7 separate regions of the Homo sapiens genome follow, and regions 1, 2, 3, 4, 6 and 7 are each linked to region 5. Evidence: promoter capture Hi-C in 16 types of primary human blood cells and fetal thymus (Javierre and others, 2016). All regions are on one chromosome and are shown on one strand. Each heading gives the region's core, a stretch centred on a gene start or on the middle of the fragment in contact. The rest is flanking DNA. Distances are from core to core; before and after follow the strand shown. Region 1 overlaps JRKL-AS1 (JRKL antisense RNA 1). Region 2 has its middle 290 kb from the start of LINC02737. Region 3 overlaps JRKL-AS1 (JRKL antisense RNA 1). Region 4 overlaps JRKL-AS1 (JRKL antisense RNA 1). Region 5 holds the start of CNTN5 (contactin 5). Region 6 has its middle 320 kb from the start of LINC02737. Region 7 has its middle 120 kb from the start of LINC02737.

The links. The method cuts DNA at HindIII sites, captures the fragments that hold promoters and counts their contacts. A CHiCAGO score of 5 or more calls a contact.
Region 1: a fragment that was not itself captured here is called in contact with the fragment with the promoter of CNTN5 in region 5 in 9 of 17 cell types (M2 macrophages, M0 macrophages, M1 macrophages and 6 more); the score reaches 32.9 in M2 macrophages.
Region 2: a contact is called between a fragment that was not itself captured here and the fragment with the promoter of CNTN5 in region 5, in 1 of 17 cell types (endothelial precursors). The highest score is 5.2, in endothelial precursors.
Region 3: a contact is called between a fragment that was not itself captured here and the fragment with the promoter of CNTN5 in region 5, in 16 of 17 cell types (M2 macrophages, M0 macrophages, total CD4 T cells and 13 more). The highest score is 165.5, in M2 macrophages.
Region 4: a contact is called between a fragment that was not itself captured here and the fragment with the promoter of CNTN5 in region 5, in 2 of 17 cell types (M0 macrophages and M1 macrophages). The highest score is 10.0, in M0 macrophages.
Region 6: a contact is called between a fragment that was not itself captured here and the fragment with the promoter of CNTN5 in region 5, in 1 of 17 cell types (fetal thymus). The highest score is 5.1, in fetal thymus.
Region 7: a fragment that was not itself captured here is called in contact with the fragment with the promoter of CNTN5 in region 5 in 1 of 17 cell types (fetal thymus); the score reaches 7.1 in fetal thymus.

The regions. Positions count from the first base shown.
Region 1 is chr11:96,440,561-96,444,603 of GRCh38, forward strand. JRKL-AS1 (JRKL antisense RNA 1) reads right to left here. Exons shown (of 5, transcript NR_047481.2): 5 at 2,721-2,815. Among named protein-coding and RNA genes, the nearest start is that of JRKL, 53 kb to the left of the region's middle. The HindIII fragment of the contact is 5,718 bases long and covers 1-4,043 here.
Region 2 is chr11:96,800,387-96,803,979 of GRCh38, forward strand. No RefSeq gene overlaps it. Among named protein-coding and RNA genes, the nearest start is that of LINC02737, 290 kb to the left of the region's middle. The HindIII fragment of the contact is 1,548 bases long and covers 1,308-2,855 here.
Region 3 is chr11:96,466,290-96,470,118 of GRCh38, forward strand. All of the region lies in intron 1 of JRKL-AS1 (JRKL antisense RNA 1), which reads right to left. Among named protein-coding and RNA genes, the nearest start is that of JRKL-AS1, 39 kb to the right of the region's middle. The HindIII fragment of the contact is 6,884 bases long and covers 1-3,829 here.
Region 4 is chr11:96,486,009-96,489,609 of GRCh38, forward strand. All of the region lies in intron 1 of JRKL-AS1 (JRKL antisense RNA 1), which reads right to left. Among named protein-coding and RNA genes, the nearest start is that of JRKL-AS1, 19 kb to the right of the region's middle. RefSeq lists an enhancer at 1,489-2,283. The HindIII fragment of the contact is 476 bases long and covers 1,438-1,913 here.
Region 5 is chr11:99,018,571-99,022,242 of GRCh38, forward strand. CNTN5 (contactin 5) reads left to right here and starts at 2,379. Exons shown (of 25, transcript NM_014361.4): 1 at 2,379-2,700. The HindIII fragment of the contact is 2,136 bases long and covers 709-2,844 here.
Region 6 is chr11:96,823,912-96,828,052 of GRCh38, forward strand. No RefSeq gene overlaps it. Among named protein-coding and RNA genes, the nearest start is that of LINC02737, 320 kb to the left of the region's middle. The HindIII fragment of the contact is 1,430 bases long and covers 1,571-3,000 here.
Region 7 is chr11:96,627,214-96,631,280 of GRCh38, forward strand. No RefSeq gene overlaps it. Among named protein-coding and RNA genes, the nearest start is that of LINC02737, 120 kb to the left of the region's middle. The HindIII fragment of the contact is 561 bases long and covers 1,995-2,555 here.

The DNA.
Region 1 (4,043 bases), core at 1,163-3,662, 2.6 Mb before region 5:
GAAAGGAAGAATCAAAAAAAAGGTGAGCCCACCTGTAATCCCAGCACTTCGGGAGGCCGAGGTGGGCAGATCACTTGAGGCCAGGAGTTTATGACCAACCTGGCCAACATGGTAATACCCCATCTCTATTAAAAATGAAAAAAATTAGCCAGGCATGGTGGCACATACTGGTAATCCCAGCCACTTGGAAGCCTGAGGCACAAGAATCACTTCAACCTGGGAGGTGGAGGTTGCAGTGAACTGAGATCACACCACTGCACTCCAGCTTGGGCAACAGAGAAAGACTCTGTCTCAAAAAAAAAAAAAAGAAATAGCAAGCATAATATTTGAAGCTATATTGTTTTTCTTCAGGCATTTGCCACTTTGAAAGAGACAACAAAGAGGTTAACCAGCACTTTTGAAATATTTTTGAGATGTAAGTGGAACAAAAGTTGGAGTTGAGAATATGTCAGAGTTTGAGATCTAATGAACATCTTCACAGGGTGGCAATCTCAAGTGGATGTACCGTGGGTATTAAGGAAGCCATAACTAAATCAGCCCATTCACAGATATAGATGAGTATGGTGTAATGTAAGTGGTCCAGAAAATGTCAAATCATAAAATTTGAATTAAGGTAATCTTGGATTGCTAGACCTTCCAGGTACTTGGCAGAAGCAGACAAAATTCCACATTAGAGGAAGATAACATTACCTGAGGTCTCAGATTGTTTTTACAATAATTTTTCAAATGCCATGTTCAGGATACAATCAAAGATAATCAAATATCTGAGAAGGAAAGACAACGTAAGCAAGATAAAGTGCAAAAAGTTAAGAGAAACATACCCAGAGGTACTCCAGATAGTGGAATTATCACACATCCTTTGTAAAATCGGTATTTTACAATGGTTTAGAAATCAAAATCCAAATCTAAAAATTCTAGCAAGTTACTTAAAATGATAAAACACATAATTTCAGATTGAAAAAGAATTAGAGTTTCTATTTCTAAAAGAAAAACATAACAAAAATTGCTAAGGTATTTAGCTCAGTTATGCATAACCAAAGAGAAAATTGGTGAACTGGAACATGTCAGAAGAAAATATTCATTGCCAATTTTATTTAATTGTAAAAAAAATCCACAGAGGGATTAAAAAATCTGGAGAGTAAGAGACATATAGAGTAAGATGGTCTAACCCTTGTTTAATTGGAGTCTCAGATAGAAAGCAGAGAGAGGATGCAGCAGAATTTGAAGAAATAATGCTGAGAATTTTCTGAAATGATTAAAGACATCAGTTTGCAAATTCAAGATGCTTAATGAATCCCAAGAAATATAAATAAAAAGATACCCACACCTAAATATATTATAGTGCAATGCTAAAGGAAAATCTTGAAAGCAGCCAGGAAAAAAAAGAATATTACCTGTAAAGATGTAACCAATGGAATAACAGATAACTTCTCAATAGAAACAATAGAAACCAGGTAACAATGGGATAATATCTTCTTAGTGCTGACATGAGTGAATGGCTGAAACTCTAATAGAAACCATATTTTTTCTGAACGGAGTATAAGGAAAAGGAGCATTTCTGAGTCTGGGAGTATGGCGGTGTGTGGAGAATCCCAGAGAGGAGGGATCCAGAGAAAAGGATTCCCTAACTGCATGCAAACCTGCACAAAGTCTCAGTCTAACCCATAAACTATACATGCACAGAACAGGCCCAATTCAGCATAGCTAAGGCTTTGAAAACTGAACTGAGACTGGAACTGCTTATAGAAGTCTCAGCCTAACCCCTAAATAACACATTCATAGGACAAATGTAGACCAACATAGTGATGATTTCGAGCTAAATGAAGATTAAAATCAGGGCTCACAAAAGGTGAGAAACAGTACAGTCTGAATATACCCAGGTTTTTTGCTTGCTAAAACAAAAACATTAACAATCTCAAGAGGATTAAAATAGGAGCAAGAATCTACACACACAATTTAACATTCACAATTACAATATCCAAGAGGAATACAGGAATTCATTTTACTATTCTTTAAACTTTTCTCTAAATTTGAAATTATATTTTTAAAAAAGTTACAAAAAAGAAAAAGAGTCAAAGGGAAGAAAATTTGAGGCAAAGAAAACATCCTTGAAGTGGGAAAGAGCCTGGCATGTTATAGGAACTAAGAGAAAAACAGTATGGCCGGAGTGTGTTGACAAGGTGCCAGGTGGCAAGTGATGAGGAGCAGAAAAGACAGTGGAAACTGGGGCTAGATCATGCGGGTTCTCATCGGCTATGGTAAGGAGTTTGGATTTGACTCTGATGGGAAGTCACTATAAAGTTCTGAGCAGGGATGTGACAAGATATACCTTGCAGTTAATTTCAGGGAATTATTCTAACTGGAGTTGCTTAGGCTACACATCAGCCTCTGAGTCACCCAATCACTGTATCTACAGAAAAAAGGAATAACTAGGCCTTCCCTTGGTCCTCTTATCCAGAGGATGAGGATGGGGAAAATCCCCACTGGAACCCTGTGGGACAGCCAAAACCAATAGCTGCCACTGCCCACAATTTGCTATGCCTGGGCTGCCCAGCATATCACTGTTTGTGACCCCCCTACAGCAAACCTGCATTTCCGTCTCAGTTCTAATAACATCCCAAGTAACATTACAAATGATCCCACATTCAACACCAAGAATAAGAGCAAAAGCCCCTACTTACACTCTCTCTAAATGGAGATGGCGTAGAAATAGCATTTGGTTTCTCTATTCTATTCCAAGTCCAATATCTCTGGGTGATAATTATTTCATATAGTCAGGTTTGAATGTGGCTCTTCTTGACCCTGCAACTGAAGGCTAGATGCCAAATTGAATGTTGGAAGGAAAACGGTTATTCAGCAAGTTAGATGCAGAGGCTGGCCCTCTCCCAGAGGGAAGGGCTATGCCTGAACCCAATTATCCACTGTAACAGGAACCCCTTTCCAGCAGCAGGAATGGCAGCAGCAGCAGCATCCCACCACTCAGAAATTATCAGGTGATGGCAGCTAGCATTCTCAGACGGCTCCTAGCCATGTTGGCATTTATACTCAGACAACTTGGTGTCTACATCCTTTGTATTTATACCCCATATCTGAAATTTATCATGATTGCATGTTATGACAGTGGAGAGTCAGGATCCCTCTCCTGGGGGCAGGGACCTGGGGTGTGTCCATCAGTATGCTGAACTGATTTTTAGACCTCTCTTTGTGATAATAAGACAATGCAGACTATATGCCTCTTAAATTTAATCCTTGATTTGTATGTTTTCCCAATAAATCCAGTTGCTTATAAACTTACCTATGATATTGCAGAATTTGCCCTCACTCATTTTTAACTATGATTTTTTTTTCTGTTTTATAGAAGGGAATGAATACAGTGAAGTTGCTCTCCTGCAGGTTGTATTACATTTGCTAGATAGGTATGTCAAAGATCTCTTTGCCCTAGTAGTGGTCTGATTTCCTGTATTAGGATAGACTTGATTTTTGTTCAGGTTCTGCTTGCCAGGAGTATCTTCCTGGTCTGTGATTTCCAGTGGCAATTCCCAAGAGTGGCATCAATGAGGATTCACCTTCTGAAGTGTTGAAGACCTCTATTTATTTTGTCTCCCAGCATACAGTCCTCTCCTGATCACAAAATCTCGCCTCTCTAAAGGAAACACATTCCATATATTTGAGACATAGCTACACCCCTTCTGCCTACCAAACCTCCCATTCTTCTCTTTCTTCTCCCAGCTACAGGGATGGGCACATGAACCTAAACCAGAGGGTCAGACTCCTCCTCAGAACTCCTTTTCAGGGGTTTTTGGAGAATATGTTCTCTTATGACTGCAGCTGTAAGGTTGGTGGGTTGTGAGTCTTGGGGCCCTGGAGACCCTGTGCCTGCTACGTGGAGAGAGTGAGAGAGCTTCAATGCCAGCATTTGTGCATTTCATCCAGCTGGGTCACAATTCAGTGTTTCTTATGTAATTTTCAGCTGAATGAGTTCAAAATATTCTCTTATTGCTTAAGCAGTATACTGTCATTTGTAGTCAAGAGTTGTACCTAAT
Region 2 (3,593 bases), core at 832-3,331, 2.2 Mb before region 5:
ATTTTCTTTATCCAATCTATCATTGATAGGCATTTTGGTTAATTCTGTGTCTTTGCTATTGTGAATAGCCACTAATGTTCTGATTCTTGATTGTATGTCTGGTAAACTTAATGAACTCCCTTACTAATTCTTCGTTTATCTATAGGTTCCTTTTTACCTTGACACTTTTTATTCTTTTTCCATCTTTGCATCTATTATGCATTTTTATTTTCTTACTTCCCTGACTGGTATTTTATGGACAAAGTTTAATAGAAGTGGTGATAGAAGTCCTTATTTTGTTCCTGATTTTAAAGAATTCATTACCATTTGATGTAATGTTTTTTGTAGGCTTATGATAAATGTACATTATCAGGTTGTGAAAATTTTAATCTATTTCTAGTCTTCCTAACAGTTCTTCTTAAAACAATTGAAAATAGCTATTAATTTTTATTAAATATTTTTGTACCTATTGAAATAAAAAATCATATGGCTTTTCTTCTTTCATCGACTAAGGTATTGCCTACATTAAGTATGTAATCTTTAAAGCTAGATAGATCTGGGCTATTGCCTTGGTTCTTACCTTTTCTTGTATACAATCCTGGGCAAGTTTCTTAACCTCTCTGATACTCAGTTTCATCATCTATGAATCAGGAATAAAATAAAAACTGTCCTGTATTACTGTGATGAATTACAATGCATATAAAATCTCTAACTTTTAGAAATTTTTATTCAGTAAACATTAGTTCATGTTTCCTTGTGTTTTGTTCATGACTTATAAACTGCTGAAGTAAAAAGCTATGTTAAAAATTCTGGTGGGTGTAGCACTCCAGCCTGGGCAACAGAGCGAGACTCCGTCTCAAAAAAAAAAAAAAAAAAAATCTGATGTGTGTAATAATAAGCAAGCATTTAAAATATTTAATTTTTGTTAAATAATTTCTAAAAGAAACTATCAGGAAAGCAAGTAAATAAATACAAACAACAAAAACCATCTGTTATACCCCTAGGTCAAATAATGAAATTAATGAGGATCTTACTGACATATAAATGCATCATGCAAATGATAGAAGATTTTAAATCAAAGAAATATTGGGAAACTTTGTAATAATGAAACCTTAAATAGTCCTCAAACATATTTGACATTGACATAAAATGCCAATAAAGAAAAGCTGTGTAATAGCTACACTGCAGACAGATGGGCTACTAGAAGAACTCACTGAAATTTTCCATATCAGCCACTTGCTATTGTCTCAACAGTGAACAATGAAATAACCAGGTGTTTTATTTTATGTTGCAAATAAAGTATTAATTTGACTTTTAAAATATTTTCAAGCTTCATGTTCAATATTTATGCCTTTTTCTTTTATCTTGTTGAAATGAGCAGAAATCATTTATAGTGTTTTATCAATTTTGGTTGAGAAATTTCTTCTGCTTTTACAGTGAGTATAATTCTTGGCAGACAGAGAAATTAGTTATCTTGATCAACAGCACATAATCCTGCACATATATAAAATTCTATGTATATTCATTGTGCCTAAAATCCCATGGTACAAACAAACTTATGTTGTTTTCATCCTGTTGAAAGTCCTAGGCTTAAAAAAATTAATTTTCTTAGCATACTGTAGTTATTCTGTGTATCATTTAAAAATTGTTTTTTAAACCTTCATTCTGAGTTATATCAGTATATTAAAAATTGCTATTCAAAGAAAAACACCAAACTTTTAAAATAAACACACCTACATTCAAATAACTTTTTCTTTTTGCAAAAATAAGCATTTGTGTTGAATTATAATGAAAGAAAGTTCAGGAAAGGCTGATTTAAATCTAGTGGTTCAGTCAATCAATATTCTGTGTCTTTGTATTTTCTTTCTTTTTTGGCCTCCTGCTTCTTATATATGAGGTTGTTTGTTCTCAGAGAGCAGGATCGTTTATATACTTCTATAGAATACCAGAGAAGAAGAACTAAGAACATTCTTTGAAAATCATAACATGCTTTATGCTTTTATTTCTTTTAAATGGGAATGAATATAGGCAAAGCACATGAATCCATTTCCTTCATTTGCCATGTAGCATATGTTTCTCATTGTTGCCATTCCAAATTAATTTGAATCAGATTCTTATATTTTATAAACTACTGAATTGAATCACTTTGTACCACTGTCAATTATTTCATGTGGACAAATTTGCTTAATGCTTATGTTTTTCATTACTGTGCTAAAGGCATTTGATTGCACTTCGGTATCTTCAGCTGTCAAAAAAGCCAGAATAAAACATCAGAAAGATAGAATGCGTTTCCTTTCATTACCTCTGCAGGGGACTCATTTCTTTAAATGTATATGACCATTGTAACTATGGCAGAATTTTATGATAAAGAAAAATAAATTGTACCCTAAGGTATTATTCCCATTTTGATGGATTGTAAAACATGTTAAAATTGGTCATTATGAACTATAATTCTTCATGGATCCAAACCCTGTTAGTATAATTTTTTTGAATTATAAAAAAAAATAGAGATCAATTTAGTTGGTGCTTTTAAATGACAGTGCATTCAGACTGCAGTAATGTAAAATGACAGCACCAGATATCAGGGATTGGTATATTTGTACTCCTGTTGTTTTGAATGAAAACAGCTTTGCCTCCTATAGGTATAGACAATTGAGATTGACAGTGGGACCCAAATCATTGCACTATGTTTGAGGCTTGAAGGACACTTGAGTTTATATTTCACAGGAAAAAAAATAACTATTGTTCCCTAAAAAATGCAGAAATTCTTTTAAAATATGCTTACATAATAATTGAATTGTGAGGGTAAAACATGGTCATACACCAAATAAAATCTCAGAGAACAAAATGAGATCCGGTCTTAAACAGCAGAATAAAGCTTGGATTTTAAACAAGTTGTTAATATAATTTTTCTCATAGATTTCTCAGCAATCTTCTAACGATACTGAATTTCCCAATATAAAATTCTTTCTTCATCATAGGTCATATTTAAAATGTCGTTTCTTCTCCTTTTCACTAATGGTTGGACATTCAGACCTGGTAGTATGCTAGACACCGTCATATCTGGTTTCCTATTTAATTCACATATTTCATAGAGCAGGGATTATAATCATCATAGCTATGGAAAATAAAGTTTAGGAATTACACAACTTTCTCTAAAACACACAACTAACGGGGCAGAACTGGAACTTACAAGTTATCACTTATTTTTGTTCTAAATCTTTTGGTCTTTGATTTTTCTCGTTTTTATTCTTTTCCTCTTGCTTTTACTTTTCTTGCACTGCAGCTAGTATGCAAAAACACTTAATAAAACTTTTCCAAATCTAAATAAAGTTTTTAATCTTGAAATAGAGTACATGTTATTTTAAGCAAAGTTTAAAATAAAAAAAAAACACCATTATGTGAAATCTCAAAAAATATTCAAACTGCATAGATGAATCCCACAAGAATAAGTCCACTTTAAACACGGAAGAACAAAAACCAGATTCCTGTCTGAGTACTCCACATTAAATGTTAGGGGGGAAAAGGAACATACAGCTGTTTTTTATATTAAAGACTAAAACTCAAGATTTCTAAACTATGTATTAATACAAGATGTCAACAGAAGATGTTGT
Region 3 (3,829 bases), core at 803-3,302, 2.6 Mb before region 5:
TAAGACATAGGTACAGCTAAAATTAGGGGTGTGGCCACAAATCCTAAGGGCACAGTTCTGCCATAACTAGATAAGCACACAATATCTTTAATTAAGTCTAAAGAAAAACATACATCTACAAAATAATTGTGGTAGCAGCTACTGGCACACAGAAATGTAATCACATAGATAAATAGCTATATCTTTGAAAGAGTTGTACTGCCAAAAGCACTGTCATCTTCAATTCAAAGAGACTGTAACTGTTTGAGATGATTTGTGCCCCAATTTTCTTGGGCAAGAGGCAGGCTGAGAAAGCTGCTCCTTCCCCTAGAATGGCATTGTCTCCAATGCTCTCCTCAGGTGCATCCAACAAGAATAACCAAAAAGAGAAGATGTTCCAGAGGGTGGATTCAAGACACAGAGAATGATGGACTGAGGGTATCTCCACTTCTACCTCCTCAAGAGCTGAACAGAGGCTACTCAAGAAATATTCCCTGCTCTAGGTTAGGAGGCCTCATGATGCTTGTTCAGCAGAATTTCAAAATTACTGTGTATTACTGATGGCTAAGTGTCTGTCTGCCTTCCTCTTCATGAATGGAGGTTTCATTGTAGTTGTTCTGTCCCTGTTTCACCATTTTATGTGAGTGTGTATGAGTTATTTTATTCCTGACTTAGAGAGTACCACAAGATCTTCAACTTTGCACCTGATGCCGTAAGCGGATGCAATTTTCAAGGTATATTTAATGGGAGCGAGTAACTTTGAGTGAGAAAGGAAGGAAAGTGAATATCCAGAGAAGGTGTTCTTTGACCGATTGTATTATTCTTTGCAAATGTATATTTCCCTCTCCTGCTATGGGAAAAATGTATTTTCTTGCTTCACGGATGTTGGGCTACTCCATGTGACTTTTTTTTTTTTTTTTTTTTTTGGCCAACAGTATGTGAGCCAATGAGACAAACATTATATTTGCACAGAAACTTCAAAAGTGATTGCTTCTTGTTAGCCTCTGCCACAAAAGTAAGCATCTTTCCCTGAGGTCCCGGTATGAAAGGAAATGTAGTACAGAGTTGAGCAAAGCTCTAGTACCCCATCCATTCCACAGATGCAGACATGTGAGTAGTAAACAAATATTTGCTGCTACAAGCCACTGAGATTTTAGAATGTTTCCTTCATGGCAAGCTCGCTGATGAAGGACTCAAGATCTTGTTTGAAATTTCCTTTGCAGTTTTGTTCAAGGGATGTAGTGCCCATAAAAATTTTATTAGTTATTTAAAAAATAATCATTTAAGCTATAGTATTCCAAAAAACCTTAGCTTATATGCCAAATAAAATTAAAAGTATTTTTCTTTATTAAAATGAAGCAAACACTTGCTGATGTTGAAACCTCAACACACAGGAAGTTAGAACATTAGAAATTAGAAAATAGAAAGACAATTCCGTAAGGTTATTGGTTTTGTTTAGTAGGACTTTGTGGTGTATGTATAGCACATTAATGAGTCGAATCAAACTATTTGTAATGTAGGCCTTAAGAGTGAACTGGACACTTTTGAAAACTATAGATGCATTACTGACATACAGTGTACTACTGAGAACTGTCAGATTATATGTATGAACCTTTGCCAGTGACTTTCCAGCTTGGTAATGTGTCATACTAGAGGAACAGGATCATTTAGAAGCATGCCTCATGTGATGTGATACTAGTAGTGAAGTAACAACATTTGCTTACAATTTTTCCTTTACAAATTAGAATGGATTCAAGACTATCCCTATTGTAACCCCAGGCTTACTTTCATTCCAGCATGCTTTCTTATGTGGGAGGGTAATGGAGTATCCTAGTATATGTAGCATCCTAGTAACCCTACAAAATCTCAGGTTGATTTTGTTTGTGTTTCAGGCCATTATATAGGCTGCACTTGGAAAATGTGTTCCATATGTGAACCTCATCTGTCACGTGAATGTGTAGCAGGGGTGAGATTGAAACCTCTTGAATTCCTGTGAGAACTGACGTGACTTCTAGTGGAGAGAAATCAAAGATCAGGAGTGGGGTGCAAATAAGCAGGTATACCTCTGCTCTTCTAATTCAGAAATAAGGATAAGCAGAGAGAATGAGGAGTGACACCTAAGGGTAAGCTATGAAGGGCAGAATGGTTCTTCTGCTCAAAATTTTTTCCATGCCAATTTTTCCATTTGAGTCAATATGTCTTCTTCTAAAATGCAAAAACCCACTGGAAGAGTAGGCATTCAACTTTTCTTTTATTTTTTCTTTCTTTTTGTTTTTTTGAGACAGGGTCTTACTCTGTCACCCAGGCTGGAGTGTAGTGGCGTGATCTCGGCTACAGCAACCTCCACCTCCTGGGTCAAGTGATTCTCCTGCCTCAGCCTCCCAAGTAGCTGGGATTACAGATGCCCACTACCATGCCCCATGCCCAGCTTTTTTTTTTTTTTTTTTTTTTTTTTACTTTTAGTAGAGATGGGGTTTCACAATGTTGGCCAGGGTGGTCTTGAACTCCTGACCTCAAGTGATCTGCCTGCCTTGGCCTCCCAAAGTATTGGGATTACATGCGTGAGCCACCACGCCTGGCCTCAACTTTTCTAATGCTTTAGTTAGTAATTCCTTGGAGGGCTCAGAGTCCACAGAGGGGGATCTTTCTGGAGTTAGAAGTGTTAAGGTATAAGGCAGATCTGGGTGAGGGTACTATAAAGAGCTGTACACAGCTACAACCCCAGGTTTATGCCACATCAGGCACGTGCTGGGCACTGAGCAGATGGGGGTGAATGAAAGGACAGACCATGTCAATGGTTGCTAGGACGAATGCTTAGGGATTTGGGAATCTTCCCGCAGACTAGTTTTCCTGCCTCACATCATGCCATTTTCTTTACCAAATCCCACATAGAACATGGTCAATGCCCCGCACATATCTCCTATTACGAGACTTTTGCCTGGGTTGCTTTTTCCATTCTCTCAGACATAAATACTTATAGATCCTTTCATGCCCATTTCAAATGTCTCTACCTCTATGATCTCTGATTGATTCCCTGGGCAGAATTAAGCTCCCTCCTTCCCACTTTAGTTTTATTCTTCTAGATACTTCTCACTTTATACTCTCATTATCTATTTGTGTACTATGGATGTATTGAGGTCAAGACCCAAGGCTTTTTTATCTGTGTCCCTGCCACAGCATCATGCACATACAAAATGGGTGCTCAATAAAAGCTAATTCGTGGAGTAGAAAGAAGAGGAGGGAAGATATTAGAAAAGTTATATAGAGGCAAAAATGGCAGCAGATAGCTGTCAAAACAAACTCCATTCATTGTGAAGTCAGGGTGACAGCTGGCCCAGATGCCCTTGGGAATTATTTCGCTTGTAGACTTTGGTATATGACAATAGTGCTAAGTAGATTTTAGTGCCTGTAAATAACTCTCCCTCATATTAGATGTTTGATTGTGGCTGGCAGTGGGTGTGGGGTCAGCAGTCTTTTCCATGCTGCCTACCTTATCCTATGACTTACAGACACAGCAGTTATTGGAGAGCTTGTGTGGCTTCTTGGAGTGCTGCCGTTTTACCTACAAAAGATGTTGATTGCCTTGGATTGAAAAAACTTGCTTTTTCTGACTTTTGCATGCCAGATTGGCTGCAGAAGTGTTATGAACGTTTCTTAGCTTTTTTTCCTGTTCAAAGCTGTGCTTTCATGTGCATGGTACATTTCCTTGGCTTTGACCTCCTTGAGGTTACCCCCACTTTGGCTTGTAAAGCAGCATTGTTTGGGGATTCTGCTGTCATGCATCTTCTGGGTGCAAAATGCCTGGCGATGCTGGTGGCAGAAGGCTTTGCTTTTTTGCCAGATACACTAG
Region 4 (3,601 bases), core at 426-2,925, 2.5 Mb before region 5:
ACTTTGAGAAGATAAAGGAAAAAAGATGAAACCCTACAGCAATATTGAGAACAAAGACTCACAGAAAAAAATTCAAAATCTGGGAGAAATTTACTCTTACCTAGAGGATAATTGTGCTTCTATTACTTAGATTCAGTTTCAAATAAGAGAATACTCTAATAGTGACTAAAACATGAGGACATTTCTTGTTTGTTTAACAAGTAGCCTGATGTTAGATGTTCTCTGTATACTTCAAGCACCCAACATCACCATCAAGAAATTAGGTTATTTCCATTTATTCTCACTGCATTCTCAATGTGTTGACATTTTGTCCTCAGATTTTTCATCTCATCATCTCAGGATAGCTGCCATAGCTCCAGATACTACATTCTAACACAGAATCATATCAAGCAGGAAGGAAGAGAGAAGGGGCAAAAATAGAACATTTTCTTCTATGTTTCTTTCTTATGTGGAAGGAAAAATACCCCAACCCTAAGTCTTCAGTGGACTTCTCTTTACATCATTGCCTAGAAGTAGGTCAATCATGGCCGGGTGTGGTGGCTCATGCGTGTAATCCCAGCACTTTGGGAGGCCAAGGCAGGCAGAACACGAGGTCAGAAGTTCGAGACCAGTCTGGTCAACATAGTGAAACCCCCTCTACTAAAAATACAAAAAATTAGCCGGGTGTGATGGTGTGCACTTGTAATTCCAGCTACTTGGGAGGCTGAGGCAGGAGAATCATGTGAACCCGGGAGGCAGAGGTTGCAGTAAGCCAAGATCATGCCATTGCACTCCACTCTGGGCGACAAAAAAACAAAAAAAAACAAAAAAAACAAAAGCCGATTGCTGGCAAGATGGCTGAATAGCAACACCTCTGGTCTGCAGCTCCTAGTGAGATCAACACAGAAGGCAGGTGATTTCTGCGTTTCCAACTGAGGTACCCAGTTCATCTTATTGGGACTGATTGGACAGTGGGTGCAGCCCATGGGGGGCAAGCCGAAGCAGGGTGGGGTGTTGCTTTACCTGGAAAGCACAAGGGGTTGGAAAATTTTCTCCCCTCCCCAAGGGAAGCTGTGAGGGACTGAGCCTGTGGAACTGTGCACTCTGGCCCAGATACTGTGCTTTTCCCACGGTCTTCGCAACCTGCAGACCAGGAGGTTCCCTCTGGTGCCTATCCTACCAGGGCCCTGGGTTTCAAGCACAAAACTGGGTGGCCGTTTGGGCAGACAGTGAACTAGCTGCAGGAGTTGTTTTTTTTTTTTTCCCATACCCCAGTGGCGCCTGGAATGCCAGCGAGACAGAACTGTTCACTCCCCTGGAAAGGGGTGCTAAAGCCAGGGAGCCGAGTGGTCTGGCTCAGCGGTTCCCATCCCCAAGGAGCCCAGCAAACTAAGATCCACTGTCTTGAAATTCTCACTGCCAGCACGGCAGCAGTCTGAGATCAACCTGGGACGCTCAAGCTTGGTGGAGGGAGGGGTATCTGCCATTGCTGAGGCTTGAGTAGGCAGTTTTACCGTCACAGTGTAAACAAAGCCTCCGGGAAGTTCAAAGTGGGTGGAGCCCACTGCAGCTCAGCAAGGCCACTGTGGCCAGACTGCCACATTTCTCCTCTCTGGGCAGGGCAGCTCTGAAAAAAAGGCAGCATCCCCAGTCAGGGATTTATAGATAAAACCCCCATGACCCTGGGACAGAGCACCTGGGGGAAGGGGTGGCTGTGGGCACAGCTTCAGCAGACTTAAACACCCCTGCCTGCTGGCTCTGAAGAGAGCAGCAGACCAGCACGCATTCGAGCTCTGCTAAGGGTCAGGCTGCCTCCTCAAGTGGGTCCCTGATCCCCAAGTCTCCTGACTGGGAGACACCTCCCAGTAGAGGACAAGAGACACCTCATACAGGAGAGCTCTGGCTAGCATCTGGCAGGTGCCCCTCTGGGATGAAGCTTCCAGAGGAAAGAACAGGCAGCAATCTTTGATGTTCTGCAGGCTCCACTGGTGATAACCAGGCAAAGAGGGTCTGGAGTGGACCTCCAGCAAACTCGAGCAGACCTGCAGCAGAGGGGCCTGACTGTTAGAAGGAAAACTGACAAACAGAAAGGAATAGCATGTCCACTCAAAGACCCTATCCTAAAGTCACCAACATCAAAGACCAAAGGTACACAAATCCACAAAGATGGGGAGAAACCAGAACCAGAGTTCTAACACATGAGAGGAAGCTAAGAACCTTGAAAAAAGGTTAGAGGAATTGCTAACTAGAATAACCAGTTTAGAGAAGAACATAAATGACCTGATGGAGCTGAAAAACACAGCAAGAGAACTTCATGAAGCATACACAAGTATCAGTAGCTGAGTTGATCAAGCAGAAGAAAGGATATCAGAGATTGAAGATCAACTTAATGAAATAAAGCTAGAAGACAAGATTAGAGAAAAAAGAATAAAAGGAATGAACAAAGCCAAAGCAATATAGGACTATGTGAAAAGACCAAATCTACATTTGATTGGTGTACCTGAAAGTGATGGGGAGAATGGAACCAAGTTATAAAACACTCTTCAGGATATTATTGAGGAGAACTTCTCCAACCTAGGAAGGCAGGCCAACATTCAAATTCAGGAAATACAGAGAACACCACAAAGATACTCCTTGAGAAGAGCAACCCCAAGACACATAATTGTCAGTTTCACCAAGGTTGAAATGAAGGAAAAAATGTTAAGGGCAGCCAGAGAGAAAGGTCGGGTTACCCACAAAGGGAAACCCATCAGACTAACAGCAGATCTCTCGGCAGAAACCCTACAAGCCAGAAGAGAGTGGGGGACAATATTCAACATTCTTAAAGGAAAGATTTTTCAACCCAGAATTTCATATCCAGCGAAACTAAGCTTCATAAGCAAAGGAGAAATAAAATCCTTACAGACAAGCAAATGCTGAGAGATTTTGTCACCACCAGGCCTGCCTTACAAGAGCTCCTGAAGGACGCACTAAACATGGAAAGGAACAACCAGTACCAGCCACTGCAAAAACATACCAAATTGTAAAGACCATTGACAATATGAAGAAACTGCATCAACTAACGGGCAAAATAACCAGCTAGCATCATAATGACAGGATCAAATTCACACATAACAATATTTACCTTAAATGTAAATGGGCTAAATGCTCCAATTAAAAGACACAGACTGGCAAATTGGATAAAGAGTCAAAACCCATCAGTGTGCTGTGTTCAGGAGACCCATCTCACGTGCAAAGACACACATAGGCTCAAAATAAAGGGATGGTGGAATATTTACCAAGCAAATGGAAAGCAAAAAAAAGCAGGAGTTGCAATCCTAATTTCTGATAAAACAGACTTTAAACCAACAAAGATTAAAAGAGACAAGGCCATTACATAATGGTAAAGGGATCAATGCAACAAGAAGAGCTAACTCTCCTAAATATATATGCACCCAATGCAGGAGCACCCAGATTCATAAAGCAAGTTCTTAGGGACCTACAAAGAGACTGAGCCACCCTCACAATCATAGCAGGAGAGCTTAACACCCCACTGTCAATATTAGACAGATCAATGAGACAGAAAATTAGCAAGGATATTCAGGACTTGAACTCAGCTCTGGAACAAGCAGACCTAATAGAC
Region 5 (3,672 bases), core at 1,129-3,628:
GGTCCTGAATGAAGTGTAGCCAGGTAACCTAGTCACCCCCAAATAATGATTGAAGTCAACATTTTAAATTTGAACTGACAGAAATAGACCTTACTATTTTTAATTAAACAGATTCAACGTTTCCTTTCTCTCCCTCTAAAGCATCAGATAACTTCGCAAGGAAAAGTGCTATTACATTATCTACTTGTTTCAAAAATATATTCACACCATAGTCTTGTGATAATATTGCTCTCTTTATAAAAAGTAGAAACATTAAAAGCTTTTATTTAGTTCTTGCTTAAGAAAGGAGAAATATTTAGTCCATTTACATCATGTAAAAGGTAAATTTTCTTGTTCATGTTAATGGTAGGAGGGCACCATGAATCATGTGACCGATAGCATTTCCTTCTTTACATTGGCTGCTAACAAAGTTAATGGCAGACCTAGCACCATTTGTAACAAAAACATCAATGCAGTTTTCTCTATAAACCTCATTTCTGGCTTCATCTTATCTCTCCTCCTATCACTTTACCGTTTGTCTTGATCTCACTGACCTACATTTTTTATTCATTTTTTTAAACTGAATAGATTTTTATAAGCCAACTTACATCCTTTCTAGGGCAAAGCTAGTTGAAAGAAATTATGTGACATAATGACTCAAAATGCCCAAATTATCGGATCATGGGTAATATAGAATGGTGTTCTAAGAAGGGAAGAGAACTTTCAGAAAGCTTTCTACACTCCCGATCCCTCTTTCAGGCTGCATGTGCTCAATTATACACTTTTAAAGGCAAAAACCTCATCGAACAATAAAAAGAATGCGTTAGAGCTCCTACACTTTGAATTTATTTTGTGATGTATTTAATGTGGTTATAAAAGTCCTGGTAGTTCTCTCTGTGAACCGACAGCCTGACAGAGGAGAAGAGCCAGTGGGGCAGAGAAAAAGCCACAGAAGGGGAATCTCCACAACGATCCCTCAGTTAACACATAAAGAAGATAACCTAGTTACTGGAAAGCAGGAACACGAATATAAAAAGTATGGAAGAGTGGAGAAGTATTAAATGCACACAAATTTGTCTTTGCTACAGAACAAGCAATCAGCCTAGATCCTGAGGATAGCGATTAAAAGCAGAGACTGGGTGTTTGTACATCATTGGATGAATGAGAAGCAGCCAAGAAACAGGAAAAGACTAATTTTAATTACCAGAAAAACTGCAAGAGAAAGAACACAGGGCTAGTGGTAGACGGCTTCCAGCTACAGGCTGCCTGGCACTGTACTCTCCTTGCCAATTAGAGCCAGTCAGACCCCATCGGGGGATTCAGTGAGCAGAAGAATCAGCGTCAGTCCAGGGTCAGGCTGCTCTCAAACACACATGAAAAACGGACACCAGCGGACACGGGGTGCGACCCTAGACTCCCATGCAGTTTCTTATACAGACACAGAGATAGAAAGCAGTACGTGGGATTTCCTTTCCATTAAATACAGGTGCAAACCACATTCTCTATGGAAATATATTGCAAAGGAAATGTTATATAATTTATTTAACAAATACCCAATTACCATCAGCCCAATCGTGGGAATTGGAAAACGACTCAAAGACTGAGAGGAAAAAAAAAAAAAAAGTAGAGAGGAGGACTGGCAGAACAATGGCACTAAAGCTGCCACACTGTGGATTTACTACCTGTGTTATTTTTCCAATTACAGCCATTGTAATATAAAAATTCCGAAAAAAAGGTTGCTGAGACCATTCCTTCGCTTTTTTTTAGAACTGAGTCAACACCCCAAATCAAAGAGAAATATAAACAGGCAGAGCCTGATAGTCCTTAGATGAAACGCGTAAGTGCAGAAACAAAAGAGAAGTGCTTCCCATTCAGGACTTAAGAAAATTCTGCAAAGTGAAAAAGTCCACTCTCAAACCGACCTAAGTGAACGCGTCAGTCTGTGCTGCTGCTGTCAGAGGTGTGAGCCGGGGACTACAGGAATCAGAGTGAAGACAGGAGCGGAGGAAGGGACTCTCGCCTGGATCTCCCGTGCCGACTCCAGCCAGCACGTTTGCTTTGTAATCTATGAATGTTAAATACGGAGGGGTTGCAGAGCAGAAACGCTCGGGGAAGGGGGGCAGGTCCTCTGTACTTAGCAGGGAAGGAAAATGCCGGTTGACTAGTGAGACGAGTGGAGAAACACAGAGCACCCTCCGGGAGGCGCACAGTTCGTTAAGCCCAGGGACATGCTCAATGAACCTTTGCAGCAAGAGGCAGTGAGGCGCTGGACGCGGGCGCCGGTGACAGCGCGGGCGGCCGGGGAGGGGCGAGGGGCCGCCCCGGGAGGACACAGCCAGTCAGAGGCGCGGGGCGCAGGGCGCGCGGACGCATTGGAGGAAAACACGCGAGCCCCAAACACACCAGCCGCAGGAGGCGCCGCACCTACTTCCCAATATAACCAACTACGGCGTGGGGGAGCGGAACTGCGAGAAGGCGGCAGCCAAAGTGCCATTAAAGCTCGGGGCGGAGAGGATGCGTTACCTGGGTCCCGTCTGCTGCGAGAGGCAGGGCAAGCTGGAGGATTCCCTCTGAATGATTAAGAACTCCGCAATTCGCCTCTGCCACAGGCTGCAAAGGACCCGAGGAACCGCTCTCTCTGAACTGTGCTGATGGGCAGGAGGATGGGAGACAGGAATTGAGAGTCACAGAGGAAGGACAGTGGAGTCTGGCATCTTATTGGTAAGTGGCTGACATTCCTTTGCCAGTGACTGCGTTCTGTGATTGTGCACTTCATCTCCCAGCCACTTAGGATTTTTGACACACTCTGTTCTGCAAAGCCATCCTTTCTTGCCATGTTGCCAGAATGTAAAAACTGTAAGATGAAGCTTTTTTAAATAAAGGAAACAAAACACGACTTTATTTCCTGCTGGGATTTTATGGCAAAAAGTTGAAACAAGAGTAAATATAACCTATTTGTATATCTCCTAATGCCACCCAAAATAAGAGTAAGCAATTCCTACACGCAAATTGCAAATTGTAAGGCAATAAATGCCAGGATAAAGTGAGGATGTTTCTACAAAAGAAACTAAATGTTTGGAAAATAGGATGCCGTTCTCAGGTACTGAATGTATGCCTTATGTTTGAGCAATGAGTTTCCGAGACTAAATAATTGGGCATCTGGCATTGCAATAACTTGTTAAAATTCAGTAGGGATGCTCTATAAGTGGAGTTCTACAAAGTTCGTGAGACTGAGAAAAACTGTATCTTGGATTATGCTGAGCTTTTTTCTAAAGGTTGTATAGGATTGTGATAGATTAAAAAATTATGTTCAGACATCCTTACCATGTTTTGTAGGGAGATATACGGAAGAGAATATCAATTTGCACATACACAAACCTGAGAATTACTCTGATGACCTGAACAATAAGTTGTTTCAACTATATTTATTTGCGAAAGAACCAGAATCCACTAAATATTTTAGAATTATATTACTTTTAAATCTTAGAACTGTTCTCCCAAGAAAAATACAATTTCATGTGGTAATTTAAATGCAGGTGAGAAGCAAAAAACTTTTAAACTGTTGTATGTTCAATGCCTTACCTACATTTCATTCATTTGTTTCTTAATTTAAAAGAGAAAATCATTTAGAGGGTCAATACTTCTACTTTGATTCTCAATTACGACTGTGGAAATAAGGATGAAAGAAGTAGA
Region 6 (4,141 bases), core at 1,036-3,535, 2.2 Mb before region 5:
CGAGGCAGATAGATCACTTGAAACAGTCTGGGCAACATGGTGAAACCTCACCTCAACAAAAATTAGCTGATGTGTTGGTGGGCGCCGGTAGTCCTAGCTGCCCCAAAGGCTGAGGTGGGAAGATCACCTAAGCCCAGGAGGTCAAGGCTGCGGTGAGCCATGATCACACCACTGTGATCAGGCATGGGTGATAGAGTGAGACTCCAGCATGGGTGACAGAGCGAGACTCTGTTTCAGAAAAAAAAGTGTGTGAAGATATGAATACACAAAAAGAATAAGCACTTAGTATATTATTAGAGCATAAAGTGAAAGCACTGAGCATGAGATGAAGATGAGTGGAGGATAACTTATAAAAGTCCTTATTTTACCGTGTAAAATTATTGGACCATAGTTCAAGAATGGTAAGCAAACTATTGGAGGATTTATTTAGGCATGTGACATAGTCAAAATTTTGTTTTAGACATTGTATCAGTAATGGTAGGCTTTTAAGTTGAGATAACAAATTAACCTACAAATCTTCAATTTGGCTGGAAGAAGTAGGGTCTTCAGACCTAAATATTCACTCAAACCCTGGCTAACCGGTTTGCACCATCTTTTTGGTGGATGATGCAGGGGAATAGAGAACGGAAAGTCACATACAGACTTTTCATTACCTCCACCTGTAAATAATTGCTTCCCTACAAAAACCATTGCTCAAAGAAGTCATATGGTCCTACTTAAGTGTAAGAGATCTGAAAAGGTTGAAGTTTTTCTACATGCAAAAAGAGACAAGACCTCGAAATATTGGTGAGCAGTAGTAATTTCTGTTGCTGTCACACCTCTCTGGGGGCCTTGGGGAGTATGGGTTTGAGTGGTACAGTACAGTACAAAGAAGGTATCTAAATTAACTAGGTAAAATATGAAGAATGTATTGACCAGTTTGTAAAGATGTAGGTGGGACCAAGAAAGGAGAAATGATGTGATAAATATTTGGGAATTAAAATTATTGGAACTTGATGATTAATTTATTGAAATGTGAGTTGAGGCAATAATTAAGAGAATATAGGACTACCCTTGGATTTCTGAAATGGGCAGTTGGATAGATGATAGTACAATTAATCAGAGTAGAATAGAATACCGGGAAAACAGGATGTTTCACTGGTAGAATAAAAAATATGATTAATTTTTGAATTTGTTGATTTTAAGGTTCAGTAAGAAGTGCATAAATACAAAACAAGAATATAAATATAAAGCTGGGGATATGATTAGTATGAAGAATGTGTAATAAAAAATGACTGGTCAGAAGGCAGGCTCTGAGGGAATTCCCAGAGTATGCACAAGAGGAGGAATGTATAAACCAACCACTAATGAATGATTAGAAATCTAAAAGGGTCAGTTGATGAGAAGAGTCAAAGAAGCTGGTGTAGAAGGATTTCAGAAGTGAGTGATAAAATATATCATATAGATGAGGGTCTTTTAATGATAAATTCCAAGTAGAATAGGATCTAAATGTAAAATCAAACCTTAATCCCTTGAGCAGAAAATATAAGAGAATGGTTTTCTGATATTGGGGTAAGAAAAGATGTTATAAAGCTTATGCTATAAAAAATTTAAAATTAGACTGCATTAAAACTTCTATGTAAGGTAATAATTGAAAGGTGTTCATTAGATATGGCAGTGTTCTTACAGGGTCTTTTTGCCAGAAACATTTCAGTGACTTCAACAGAAACTAGAGGAAACCAGAGTCAAGGAAGTGTTAATTTTTTAAGGGGACACATATGAGCATATTTATAGAGCAAGAGTAAAAGGTCTTCAAAGAGAAGTGATTTCAGGGTGGACACTTTGAAAACTAATTTAAATTCTAGAACTATTACAAAGTTGGGAGGCATGCACTTTTCTTATTTTTTTTTAATCTGTCTTAAAAAAGGCTTTAGAAACTTTTTAGGTCTTTCTCAAATAATCTGTAGCCTAATCTCAAATCTATAAACTGGAATGATGATTTAAATGAGAGGAACATGGAGACAGAATTTTAGTTTGGGTTTAGAAGCTGATCTCAAGCAATAATTTGAGTGGAAGTAGTTTATTTGGGAGGTAATCCAAGGAATTATTGGGAGAGGAGTGGGAAAATATAATGGAGAGGAAATGAACCCCCTAAAGAGGTACATTGTCAAACCAGTTACTACTGTGAGCAGTCGGAGGTTAGCCTCACTGGAGAACTCTGGGAGACAGCATAGAAAGAGGCCCAGAGTTATCCTGACCAAGGAGTAAGGAAGCTGGGATATGTATTCACCAAATTCCTGTCCATTATGTATGTAGAGCCTTTTTTTGGGCATCAACTGTCCAGCACTCTGTGTGTGCCTAGCCTGTATAAAGGCTGAGCGGGAACCTTCAGTCAGAAACATGAGCCTCAGACAGTCATAGGTGACAGTGATCCTGTGTAGAGGCAAATCACAGGAGCCAATGGGTAAGGCACTGACACCCTGTGCTGCAGGTGAGTGGGTCAGGAAAAGACCCCAGAAGGGCAGCAGTGGACCAAGGACAAGTGTACCATTATGTGGTCTTAGGCACATTCCTTGACCTTTCTGGATTAATCCACAAAATCGGTGGTGTCTCATTTTACTAAGGCTGCCATAAGAAAATACCATGCACTAGGTGGCTTACATAACAGAAACTTATTTTCTCACAATTTTAGAGACTTGAAGTCCAAGGTCAAGGTGTTGTCAGTGTGAGTTTCCTCTGGTCTCTCTCCTTGTCTTGCAGATCACTGCTCTCTGCTCCTTCTTCACAAAATCATCTCTCTGTGCACGCATTCGCCTGTAGACTGTCTGTATGTACAGAGCTCCTCTTCTTATAAGAACTCCAGTCAGACTGGATTAGGGCCCAACCAAGAGCCTCATTTTAAGTTAATTGCCATTTTAAAGGTCCTATCTCTAAACACATAGTCACATTTTGAAATACTGGGCTTAGGGATTCAACATATGGATTTTGGGGGGACATAATTCAACCCATTACAAATGAGTAAGCTTCATGGTATATTGTAATAACCTGTTTACAGTTACATTACAATAACCTTCAATATATTGTAATAATCTGTTTTGCTTTTCTTAAGCTCATTTTTCATAGCCTTACAATAAACTTTTGACAATTTTTGTCTCTAGATGTCTTCTCCCAAATGTTGTTTTCTTCTGAATGTGATTTAATCTTCTTTTTTCTATGCCACACTTACATCTTAAATCTACAATTTCATTTGATCTCATCAGTAAGAGATATGCACTATTACCTTGTGATATTCATCAAACGCACCCCTCACCGTCAAGTGACAGGCTTTCATCATCCTGGAATTAGAAGTCTGTGTTCTGATTTAAGGAGAGGAAGGCATGTTAAACTGTTTGAATGGTTGGGAAAAAAAAATGACTCAGCAGTTGAATTCTTAGCTGCTTAGAGACTGTTCAGCTTCTTATAAACCTTGCCTGAAAATAACGGTAAATCCTGCCTCTAAGCTTGATTCCTGTATACATTCAGCTGCCTTAGAGGGGCAGTGCTGTCTCATGTATCAGACAAGAAACTGCCAGCCAGGAGATTTGGAATTCTAACTCTTCTGGAAGCCTGAAGCAAATCACTTAACTTCTCCATATCGCAGTATCCACATTAAAAGATGAGGGTAAATAGTGTCTATCTTGAGGGCATGATAATGACAAATCAAAATATAATGTATGAAAAGTTTGAATACTTAGGTATTTTGGTAAGAAAAGCATACTATTATATAATGACTTTTCAGTTAATGTCCTGGTAATTTTTATCTGCCCAAAGTTTCAATTTTTAAAGTTGGGCTGTGTCCTCCATGACAGTTGCTCTGGCTCTGAGTATGGTATCCAGAAACCTGAGAAGGAGAAGGAAGAAATATTCAACGTAGTCAGAGAATTTCTAGGTAGAACAAGCATAATCTGTAGATTGAATAGACACGCTTTTCTTTCACATACACCCATATACACATATACTTTTTCAAATATATGTAGATACCATTGAGCTATTAATAAATAAAACTTTAAAAAGGAGTTACTACATTAATAATAAAAGTTATTATGTATCATTCAATTAGTGTCAGAGAAAACCACAACTATTAGGATCAGTCAAATTTTGTTGATATTAAGAAGGAACATTT
Region 7 (4,067 bases), core at 1,025-3,524, 2.4 Mb before region 5:
ATGCAGCAGTCAATTCTTCTCAAGCACTTAGCTTCCTTTTTGCAGATGTCTTCAGATCCAAAGTGAAGAAAAGACTGCAGCCCATATTTAGTGTCAGTCTTCATATTTGTGTACTGTTGAGACTGATGATAGGGCAGTAAAGGAGATAGACACTAATTTAAATAGTTTAAAAGGGAATTGAGTTAAAGATCTGATAAGAACTGGCAGCATTGATTAAATAACATAAGTCTGTTCAGTTTTCTGAAGTGAAAGTACATTCAGTTTCCACAAATGAAATAGGTGTCTTTTAGAACTATCAAAAGGGGAGGGAAGTACTTGTTTGCTATAGACTATGTTTTCTACTATATGGCTGTAATATGCTGATTGGGCGTTTTCCATATGTAATGTTTTAGTACCTTCTGTTGGCAACACCCCATGGTGGAGTTGTTTGATATAAAGTTATATCTTCTGTGAAAAAAATAATGAATATTACAAGTAATTGTAATCAGAGTTGGCAGCATGAAAGGTGTATTTGCAGAAACAAGAATTGAGAAATAGGTCATCTGTAAAATTGCGGGAGAAGCAAACACCACCTCTTCTAAAAGTGGTCCAGATTGAATTTAGATCTTCATTTAATCTAAATAAACTATAAGAAGAGTTTCCCAACATTGTGTATGGGAAAACAGCTAAATTAATAGCAGTAGAGGTTTTAAGGATGAGAAGAGGAATTTTGGGAAAGATGGTGGAACCAAGAGAAAAGGGACAACAAAACCAACACTTACAGGAAAGATTACAAGACCAATCAGTTCTGCGGATACCATTCAGATGATTTTGAGGTCCTAAATATTTGTAGGTAAATGAAGAATATAGAAAAAGGAAACAGTAGGGAAAGCCAAAAGGAAAAGGAAAGGACATTAATCAAGGAAGTTTTGAAACCAATGAATGATAGAAAATTAAAAGAAGTTAGTCTCTAAAAAATATAGAAGCAACCAATAAGTACATGAAAAGTCATACAATATTATTAGTTATTAGGAAAATGCAAATGAAAGGCACAATGATATACAACCTCACACCTAGTAGGATAACTATAATTTTAAAAGACAGGTAACAAGTATTGGCAAGGATGTGGAGAATTTGGAACCTTTTTACATCGCTGGCAGCTATGTTAAATGGTCTCTCTGCTTTCGAAAACCATTCGACAAATCCTCAAAAAGTTAAACTTAGAATGACCATATGATCCAGAGGTGCTGCTTATAAGTCCCTATCCAGAAGAATTAAAAACATATATTGATACAAAAACATATACACAAATTTTCATACTGACATTATTCCTAATAGCTCAAAAGTGGAAACAAACCAAATATCCATGACTGACAAATGGATATCCAATATGTATGTCCATAAAATGAAACATTACTCATTTATAAAAAGGAATGAAGTGCTGATTCATGCTACAACATGGATGGACCTTGAAAACATATAAAGGAAGCCAGACACAAAATGCCACATATTGTATAATTCAATTTATATGAATTGGCCAGAATAGGAAAATCTATAGAGACAAAAATTATATCAGTAGTTGCCAGAGACTGGGTGGGGTGGGGTGAGGGGAGTGGGGAGTAACTGCTAATGGGAATGGAGTTTTTTCTAAGCTAATAAAAATATTCTGAAATTAGATTGTCATGATGGTTGCACAACCTTGTGAATATACTAAAGCTCACTGAATCATATACTTTAAAAAGGTGAACTTCATGGTGAATTATAGCTCAATAAGAAAAATAAAAGAAGGATGATGAGTAGGTTACAAAGGAGGTTTACAGAAGAAATTAAGTATAAGAATCCTAAGGGATCTTGATCCAGTGTCTTGGGTAGAAGCTGACCACTTTGAGTTGTCATCTGCTTGGTGCCAAGTTCTTGGGAATGCAATGTATCTCATGTTGTCATCCTCTTCTGGGGACTTTTAAAAGATCCTCTCTTTATGGTATTCTGTTGGTGTGGATTTCCATTTGTAATAAAGCTTAGTTTTAAAATTGCGAAACATGAACCCCAGCTTGTACTACTTGTAGCTTTGCAGTGGTATTGATAGTTAGGAGACAGCATAATGCCTCTTATACTTGGGTTCAGGATCGGTCTTTCAGTAGTGTCTTCCAGAAGACTAGGTCTCCCATCTGAAAATGATGTTTAAGCTGTGGTGGTATATCTTGGGAGAAACAACTTGACCTGTTGGGGGAAAGTGTAAGTGCACTTAACAATTGCTTGGCAGTATTTAGGGATAATATATTGTAGCAGATTGCAATGTCTGCTTCATTCCAAAGCAATGTCCAGAGTAATATCTCATTGATTGGCCTGCTAGTAATAATTTCACAGGAGGATAAAGTTGACTGGGTGGTGAGGAGTTCAAAGGATCATTAGGTCTAAAGGAGAGACTTTGGGCAAAGACAGGTTAGGTTCCTCAAAGAGTTCGCTACTATGAAGTTAAAAACACTATTGGACCATTATATCTTTCTAGAGGTTTGAAGGTAGTAAGAATAGTGAGTTCTTATGAGAGTAGAAGTAGTGTTTGAATATCCTGAGTAAGCTTACCAGTGAAGGGATTTCCTCTATTGATAGACAGGAAAAAAGGGATTCTCCAAGTGGGGAAAATTATTTCTAGTAGCAACTTAAATATAGTGGTGGCAGTATCCTATGTGCAGGTAAAATCTTCTTATCATCCTGAAAACATGCAGACTATGGTAGAAACTATTCATATTTATAATACTTTAAAAGTGGAATAAAATCCATTTGCCAATGAGGAAGGGAACAGAGGAAACTGTCTCTCATCTTTGCCTTACCTTTAGGTTTTTGCCAGGATTGTATTTTTTTTTTTTTGTGGCAAATTGAGAAAGTTGAGGTTATTTGCTTACCATGAAGCTGATGTGACCCTACCAATATTTCTGAAGGATATTTTAAAGATATTCTTTGCTGTGGGCTTTGCTGATGTTGTGGATTAAATTTTGGATATGAAACCAAGGAATGAAAAGTAGCCATCTGGGTGTCTTCACATGTACAAAACATGTAGCTTGTTTTCAATGAGCTTTCTCAGCCTTAGATGCTAGCAATTATTGTCCCAGAAGTTCCTTAATTAGAGTTTCTATCTCTAAAGGAGGTTGAGCAAGGGGAGTAGTGCAGGCAACTGAGGAAGAATTTTCTTGCAAAGTGGCTCTCTTGACGTATTTGTCTCCCCACGGGTTTCCTTTAGCATCAGGAGACTGTCTAGTGTGAGCTTCAGCTTTGAGGGTAGCTAATTCCTTGGGTAGCAAGGCTTCTAAGAGGTTAGCTACTTGAGTTCCATTGAATATCTGCTACCTGTGCAAATGTTAGCTTTCTTATCTTGTGCTAGTATGCAAGTCTGGCGAGGGCTATCAGTTTAACTGCTTGGCTGATTTAACTTTAGGTAGGGGTTTGAACTCAACAAATGTTTCAAAATCTGGGATAGTATATTTTGCATAAAACTCCTCATTTGTATGCCTGAGGTAAGAACTGTGCACAAAGGAGGTGACATCTGAGTATTTGGGAGTTCTGGTGAAGTTTGGGTGAGAGTGATACAGTCATCAGGTTCTTCCTCAGATAGTAGGGGAAGAAGAGCAGAGGACTGAGGTGTAGAGAGTGATAAGTAGCAATATGAGAGGAATAAGGTAGTAGGATCTCACAGGACGTGAGGATGGAAGTGGAAGAGTGTTGAATATTCTCAGTTAGTAGTAGGGTCTTAACTACTTGGGGCACATAAAGGTTGAATGCATGACTCAGAATTAAGTTAGTATTGATCTTGACCAATTTGGTAGCAACAGCAACTAAAGCAAAGTGAAAATGTCTGAGCCACAGGGTCAAAAGTGAGGCTAAAGAATCCAACAGGACTTTGGCTTCCATTGTATTTTTGGATGGCGACATCTAAAGCATGTCCTTTTCCTTTATGCATAAAAAAATGGAAAAACTCAATGAGTAACTGTAGAGTCCAAGAGTCAGGGGAAATGATAGAGAGGATTTGAGGTTTTGAAATGCAAACATGGGAGGGGAATCTCAGTTAAGGGGTTTGGAAATGGACTCCTTAG